Linked DNA regions of Homo sapiens: region 1 is linked to region 2. The links are contacts of gene promoters, found by promoter capture Hi-C in blood cells and fetal thymus (Javierre and others, 2016). All regions are on one chromosome and are shown on one strand. The core of a region is centred on a gene start or on the middle of the fragment in contact, and the rest is flanking DNA. Distances in the headings are between cores, read along the strand shown. Region 1 has its middle 46 kb from the start of MTERF1. Region 2 holds the start of ERVW-1 (endogenous retrovirus group W member 1, envelope).

The links. Contacts are between HindIII fragments. The CHiCAGO score rates a contact against its expected background, and 5 or more counts as called.
Region 1: a fragment that was not itself captured here is called in contact with the fragment with the promoter of ERVW-1 in region 2 in 2 of 17 cell types (erythroblasts and naive CD8 T cells); the score reaches 6.0 in erythroblasts.

What each region holds. Positions count from the first base shown.
Region 1 is chr7:91,832,649-91,836,092 of GRCh38, forward strand. No RefSeq gene overlaps it. Among named protein-coding and RNA genes, the nearest start is that of MTERF1, 46 kb to the right of the region's middle. The HindIII fragment of the contact is 1,099 bases long and covers 1,312-2,410 here.
Region 2 is chr7:92,476,411-92,479,401 of GRCh38, forward strand. It overlaps ERVW-1 (endogenous retrovirus group W member 1, envelope), which reads right to left and starts at 1,536. Exons shown (of 2, transcript NM_001130925.2): 1 at 972-1,536. It also overlaps a transcript of GATAD1 not described here. RefSeq lists enhancers at 220-721, 859-1,778, 1,756-1,900, 1,790-2,220, 1,818-1,849 and 1 more, promoters at 1,426-1,758, 1,465-1,825 and cis regulatory regions at 1,850-1,911, 1,912-2,220. The HindIII fragment of the contact is 16,290 bases long and covers 1-2,991 here.

The DNA.
Region 1 (3,444 bases), core at 611-3,110, 640 kb before region 2:
TTTTTTGAGCAGTTCCTACTCCCTAGCACATATCTTTGATATGAGCAATCCTGAAGAATAGTCTACTGTGACAGAGACTGGCTCTGTTCTTTCTTTAAAATGTATCACAGCTCCCAGATGCCTTGCAATTTGGTGGGCTCGTGTGACTGGCTGTCACCAGCAGTGTGGAGGAGGGGGTGATGTGTGTCACCTCCAGGTGGTTAAGAGCTTGTGTAACTTCTCCCCATCGTGTCTGAAGGCTGGATGCAGCCAAAATTTCAATGCTTTAGAAGGTAGCAGAATGATTCATTGGATTTGGGATGCCGAGGCGGGCAGATCACCTGAGGTCGGGAGTTCGAGACCAGTCGGACCAACATGGAGTAACTCCATCTCTACTAAAAATACAAAATTAGCTGGGCATGGTGGCACATGCCTGTAGTCCCAGCTACTTGGGAGGCTGAGGCAGGAGAATCGCTTGAACCTGGAAGGCGGAGGTTGTGGTGAGTTGAGATCGAGCCATTGCACTCCAGCCTGGGCAACAAGAGTGAAACTCCGTCTCCACAGAGTAAAGCTCCAACCTGCCCCTGACAACCTGCATCAGGAATGTTTTCCATTTCATTAACACAATTACGGCATTTATAGTTACTCACGGCTTTGTATTTGTGCATGTATATTAATAATATTACCAATTTGTTCTTGAGTTTCTTTTTCCATACTTCAATTTTTATATGGATCATAATAGGAAATAATGGTGGTTTATATGAGTTATCATTTACACGCAAAACAAATTGGAACTGCTAAGGCCAGGATAGTGAATAATAAATTATACACATCTGATACCCTTCAAAGTAATCTTAAATAAGAATGCAATCTTATGTGCAGTTAGTTTAACCTATCTTTCTTGATAGTGGGATTAACTCTTCTCTAAATAAGTAATTTATAAAAGTAACTCAAAAGCCAAGGTCAGTGATATTCACCTGTAATTCCAACTACTTGGGAGGCTGAGGTGGGAGGATCACTTGAGCCCAGGAATTCAAGCCTATAGTGCACAATTGTTGAGTTTGTGAATAGCCACTGCACTCTAGCCTGGGCAATGTAGCGAGACCCTGTCTCTAAAAAATTGTTAGATAAAAAGTAAATGCGACTCAAAGTGAATGCAGTTAATTTATGTTACTGCCTATCTTAAATCCTTACTACCTCCAGGATAAGATCCGAACACCTCAGCATATCATGCTTTCCCTTGCTTATCTCCCTTGCCTCTGTCTCTACTTCCCCAGCCTCTCACACTGAAGCAATTCTGAATTACTCGCAGGTTGTACTTGTAACCTAAAAAGCTTATTTAAAATACAGATGTCTAGAGTCTGGTGCTAAGAGTCTTGTTCAGTAGAGCTGGGGTGGGAAACTAACCTCTACATTTTAATAAATATCTCAGGTGACTCTGATGCAGGTGAATTACAGATCACCTTTTGAGAAATGCTGATGACAACAAATGATAAAAATAATACTAGGAGATGTTTTACATGACAATTTTAATAAGAAAAAAAGCTAAAAATTGCATTTATTTTGATTATTTTTAAATACATAGACTAGTTACTCATTTTATTTATGCAAAAAGTTATAAAAGTAAGTAGGGACACTTCATTTCTAAAATATCTACTGAATTTATTTCTAAGATAATGAGTAAAGCAATTTTCCACTTTGATTAAGAAAAGTACTAATCATTGTAACTTCCACTGCTGTGCTTTTAAAAATTATGAATCTGTATATTCAAAAGTAAAATATTGACTGGATTTGGTGGCTCATGCCTATAATCCCAGCATTTTGGGAGGCTGAGGTGGGAGGTTCGCTTGAGGCCAGGGGTTTGACATTAGCCTGGGCAACACAGCGAGATCCCCTCTCTAAAACAAACAAACAAAAAAGATCAATTTCTATATTTATTAGGCTGATTTGAAAAAAATAATAGTAGTAATATAAATAGATAATATTACCATTTGAATCATCAGGACTAAACAATCATGGGTTATATTTAATAGGGAAAAAACAGTCTCTAGCTGCCACACCTCACAGATAGAGTCAAAGAAAAATTCATTTTTCAAAATTAATTTTAATCAGGAGGATAGTTCCACATACGTGAGTTATTCAATGTCCCATTGCAACTTCTTGACCATTGGTTTAGTTCCCAGAGCTAGACTCGTTTTAGTGAAATTTGGAACCATAGATCTAAACTTTCATATCTTACTTCAATCCACAGTGAGACTTTTTGCAAATCACTCCCCGTCTCTTTTTACACTCCTCATCTATTAAACAGGACTAACAATTGCCAATAACCTTAAGTCTGAAAAAATATATATACTATAATCATATCTCTAACAAAATTTGAGATCTTAGGAATAAATCACTGGATATAAATACAAAATGTAATTATCCTGAAAGCTTTCCCTATTGCAGTATTGGTAGAGTACATATTTCAAACACAAATATTTAAAAAGGTTATTCTCATCATTAACATTAATAAATATTTACTGAGGTGCCTATCGGGTATTTGGCAATGCACTAGTGAGCAATCTTACATCAAGTTTGAAATAGATTCACATTGCAGAGAAATATATAACCTAAATTAGAGTCTCAGAAATTGGAGACTGGCCAGGTTCTCTCCTCTAGGAAAAAAAGAATTCAAACACATGAAGAGCTAACTGAGCACTGGACACAAATATCAACAGCTGAGCTGAACCACTTCCTTGGCTACTAGTCCTACAAGCATCACTCTCAGATTTCTTCTATAAAGAGATACAACCATAATCCACAAGTAACTGAAAGAACACCTCCTCTGAAGTCTGGGACTTTCTTCTCTGAAGTTTCTGAACTACATCAGCTCTTTACCACAGCCCTCTATGCCTGCTGGCCCAAAGAAATCTGTTCTAATAAAACCTCAAGCCTCCCCACTGAGTATCCTCTATTTAGAATTCCAGAGTTGGCTTCTGAGATTAAGAACTCTTTTAACCCATTTGTAAAAATTTAGTCAAGACAGGATATAACATGTTGCACAGTAATTACACCAAGAATTCCGTGTCAAAGGCTCAAAATCTCATTTTACTTTTTATACATCTTGGGACCTGCAAAAGTGACTTCACTTCTCTGGAACTCTTTTCTCTCATCTAGAAAATGTAAAGATGAATACTAACCTGCTTTGATCAAAAGCTTGTTACATGGGGGAAAAAATACATTTGTAAAGGTCTTTGGAAAATACAAAGAGCTATAGAAATGTTAGATAATAAAGGTTTTGTCCAAGCAAGACTGGAATGGCTACTTCTCCTCATTTTGACCTTCTGTTGAACTCACCTTCCTCTTCAGGCTACAAAAGAAGGAACCCTATATTTCCTCTCTAAGGAAGTTTTTAAAATACATTTTAAAATGCCTTTTATATTCATGTTTCAAGTTCTGCTGGAACTGGCTTTTCCCCCCCCA
Region 2 (2,991 bases), core at 286-2,785:
TTGTCAATGGCCTCAGTGCTTTCGGCCTATGCTCTTATTTACACTGACCACAAAGTGGATTGGAGTGCTATAGGGTCACAGAGAAGACCTTCAATTATCAAGTACAGGTTTTAAATTTACCCTGGCTTTTAAAGGAATAGGGCACACTGTTTTTTACTATTTCTTTCTCTTTCTTTCTCTCTTTGACTCTCTCTCTCTCCTCTTTGTCTCTCTCTCTCTTCTGTCTCTCTCACTGTCTCTCTCTCCTCTCTGTCTCTCTCTCTTTCTCCTCCATTTCTCTCTCTCTCCTCTGTCTCTCTTTTCCCTCAGCCATTTACAAACTTGGGGCCCTGGCAAGGGTGGTGGGGAGTGGGTCCTACATAACTGCCCATGTCAAGAGCTGTATGCCTAAATTGGGAGGGACACCAGGGATAAGACTCCCTGGGTTATAGCCTAGGTGCCTAAGGACGCAGCGCAGAGCTTCCTTAGATCCCTTTGGAGATACAACTTGCTAGAGGAAATGGAAGTCTGAACCAATAGTACCTAGGAGGCAGGGATCAGAGGAAGTATATTCAGAGGTAAGGAGAATTTTGGGGCTACACTTTGAAGAAAGTTGTGGTTGGGACCCAGGAGGTATGGGTCAGAAGGAAAGATAGGGGTGCATGCATGGGCGACTGTTGAGACTTCTGGCTACACCATGATCTCAACCGGCTACTGCCGGGAGTTCAGGACGACAGCTTTCTGCCTCTAGTCGGCCCTCGGCTTCCCCAAGAAAACTGAAAGTGGAAGCTGGCTTGAGGCAAACCAAGTCCCCAACCCAGAAGGGTTGGGGGTTGTTAGAAAGCCCTTCCCCAGATAGCCTCACACCTGAGTCTTAAGTCCGGTGGCCACACTAATCGTTTTTAACTGGCCGACAAGTGCCCGGTATTTTCCTCCAATTCTAAGGAAGGATAGGACAGAATAGCAAGTGAAAGTGGTCCAATATTACTCACCACTTTGGATGTCCGTTCGTGGTTGCCAAAATGTTACCGGGGGGTCCTTGCTCACAGAGCTCCCAAGATGGTGGTGAACCACTTCCAAGATGGTAGCAGGCCGCTTCCAAGATGGTGGCAAGCCTCGTATTCTCTGACCTGGAGTTCTTGGCCTCACGGATTCCAAGGAATGGAATCTTGGGCCATGTGGTAAGTGTTATAGTTCTATTAGAAGCCGTGGGTCACAGAAGAGAACCATGGAACCCAGTGACTAGTGTTCAGCTCAATTAGAACAAACCCAGGCACTTAGCCGTGCAGGAACAATGGCAAGCCTTTAGCCCAATTGGGAGCGGCAATGGGCGCCTCGCTGGATCAGGAGCACAGCGGACACCCTGCAGGATCCAGAGGGATGGGAGTCAGCGGCAGGTCTGCGGTGGTGGCAAACAGCAGTGGTGGACGGTGAGCAAAAGCTCAGCTCGAGCCGTAAGAAACATGGACCAGAAGAGTGCAGTTGCAAGATTTAATAGAGTGAAATAGCATGAAAACAGCTCCCATACAAAGGGAAGGGACCCAAAGGGGGGCTGCTGTTGCCAGCTCGAATGCCTGGGTTTATATCCCGATTGTTGTCCCTCCTGCTGTGCTCTCAGGCAATAGATGATTGGCTATTTCTTTACCTCCTGTCTTTGCCTAATTAGCATTTTAGTGAGCTCTCTGATTGGTCAGGTGTGAGCTAAGTTGCAAGCCCCGTGTTTAAAGGTGGACGTGGTCACCTTCCCAGCTAGGCTTAGGGATTCTTAGTCGGCCTAGGAAATCCAGCTAGTCCTGTCTCTCAGTTGCAAGATAATTGCTGTATCTCCAGGCGTTTTGCCCTCATCCCAGAAAGGAAGCCCGCCCCAGGGACTTCTGTCTATGTTCACTGTCCAGAACTATGTCACATAGCCACAAATGACTGCAGTGAAGATCATGTGACTCAGTAATTCACTCTCCAGAGAGTATAGGAAGGCAAGAGAGGTGGTGTTGGAATGGATGTTGAATGAATTCATCTATAGGATATACCACAACGTCGGGAATAAGTGGCAGATGTTACAATCGAAATGGGCTGATTATAAGTGGGGATAAGTGGCTCGTGGGGTGGCAGAGGTCAGGCAGTTGCAATATGAGAGGCTAGGTGGATGCAGCTACCATAATCAGCAGTAAAGCCAGCATGTTAATTGCAGTGGTCTGACCTGCAGGGATCTTTGGTGCTGCCTAATTATGGTAATACATAAGTTATTAAGAAATAGTTTTTTGGCAGCTAGAAAGAGTAAAGGTTTTTGGAAATTTTCTTGTAATAAGAAGCAACCCTCACCCATTCCAAACCATTCCTTTTCTAACAGAAAAGACAGCTTAAAGAGCCAGGCCAGCAAACTTTGATATGCAAATGCAGGCTATTAAAAACTAGGTCCACCCAACATGGCCACCATGGCGATTCCCACCCTCTTCTTGTCAGCACATGTACCAAGTGTCATGGCCCCCTCCAGATAATTCATGTGTTTTCAGAACATCATGGCAACCCACATTTGCATATTAAAGGGCTGAGGTGGGAGGGCCAGGTTTTTTGCGGGGTACATGAATGATACACCTGGTCAACCCAATCCCCTGGGCCCTGTGCAAATCAGACACCGCCTCCTCCAGCCTCCCAGTATAATCAACCACTTTTCCACTGCACATGGGGTTTCCTTCTCTCGGCTTGGAGCCCCCTCCCTCTGTGTCTGTACAGGGGAGCCTCTTCCTTCTTTTTTGCGTATTAAACTCTCTGCTCCTTAAAACCACTCCATGTGTGTCCGTGTTGTTGTCACCCCCGTCCCTGTGAAGAGAGTCCACCAAACAGGCTTTGTGTGAGCAACAAGGCTGTTTATTTCACCTGGGTGCAGGCGGGCTGAGTCCAAAAAAGGAGTCAGCTAAGGGAGATGGGGTGGGGCCATTTTATAGGATTTGGGTGGGTAGTGGAGGGGCAGGGGTCACAAGGTGCTCAGTGGGGGAGGTTTTGAGCCAGGAGAAG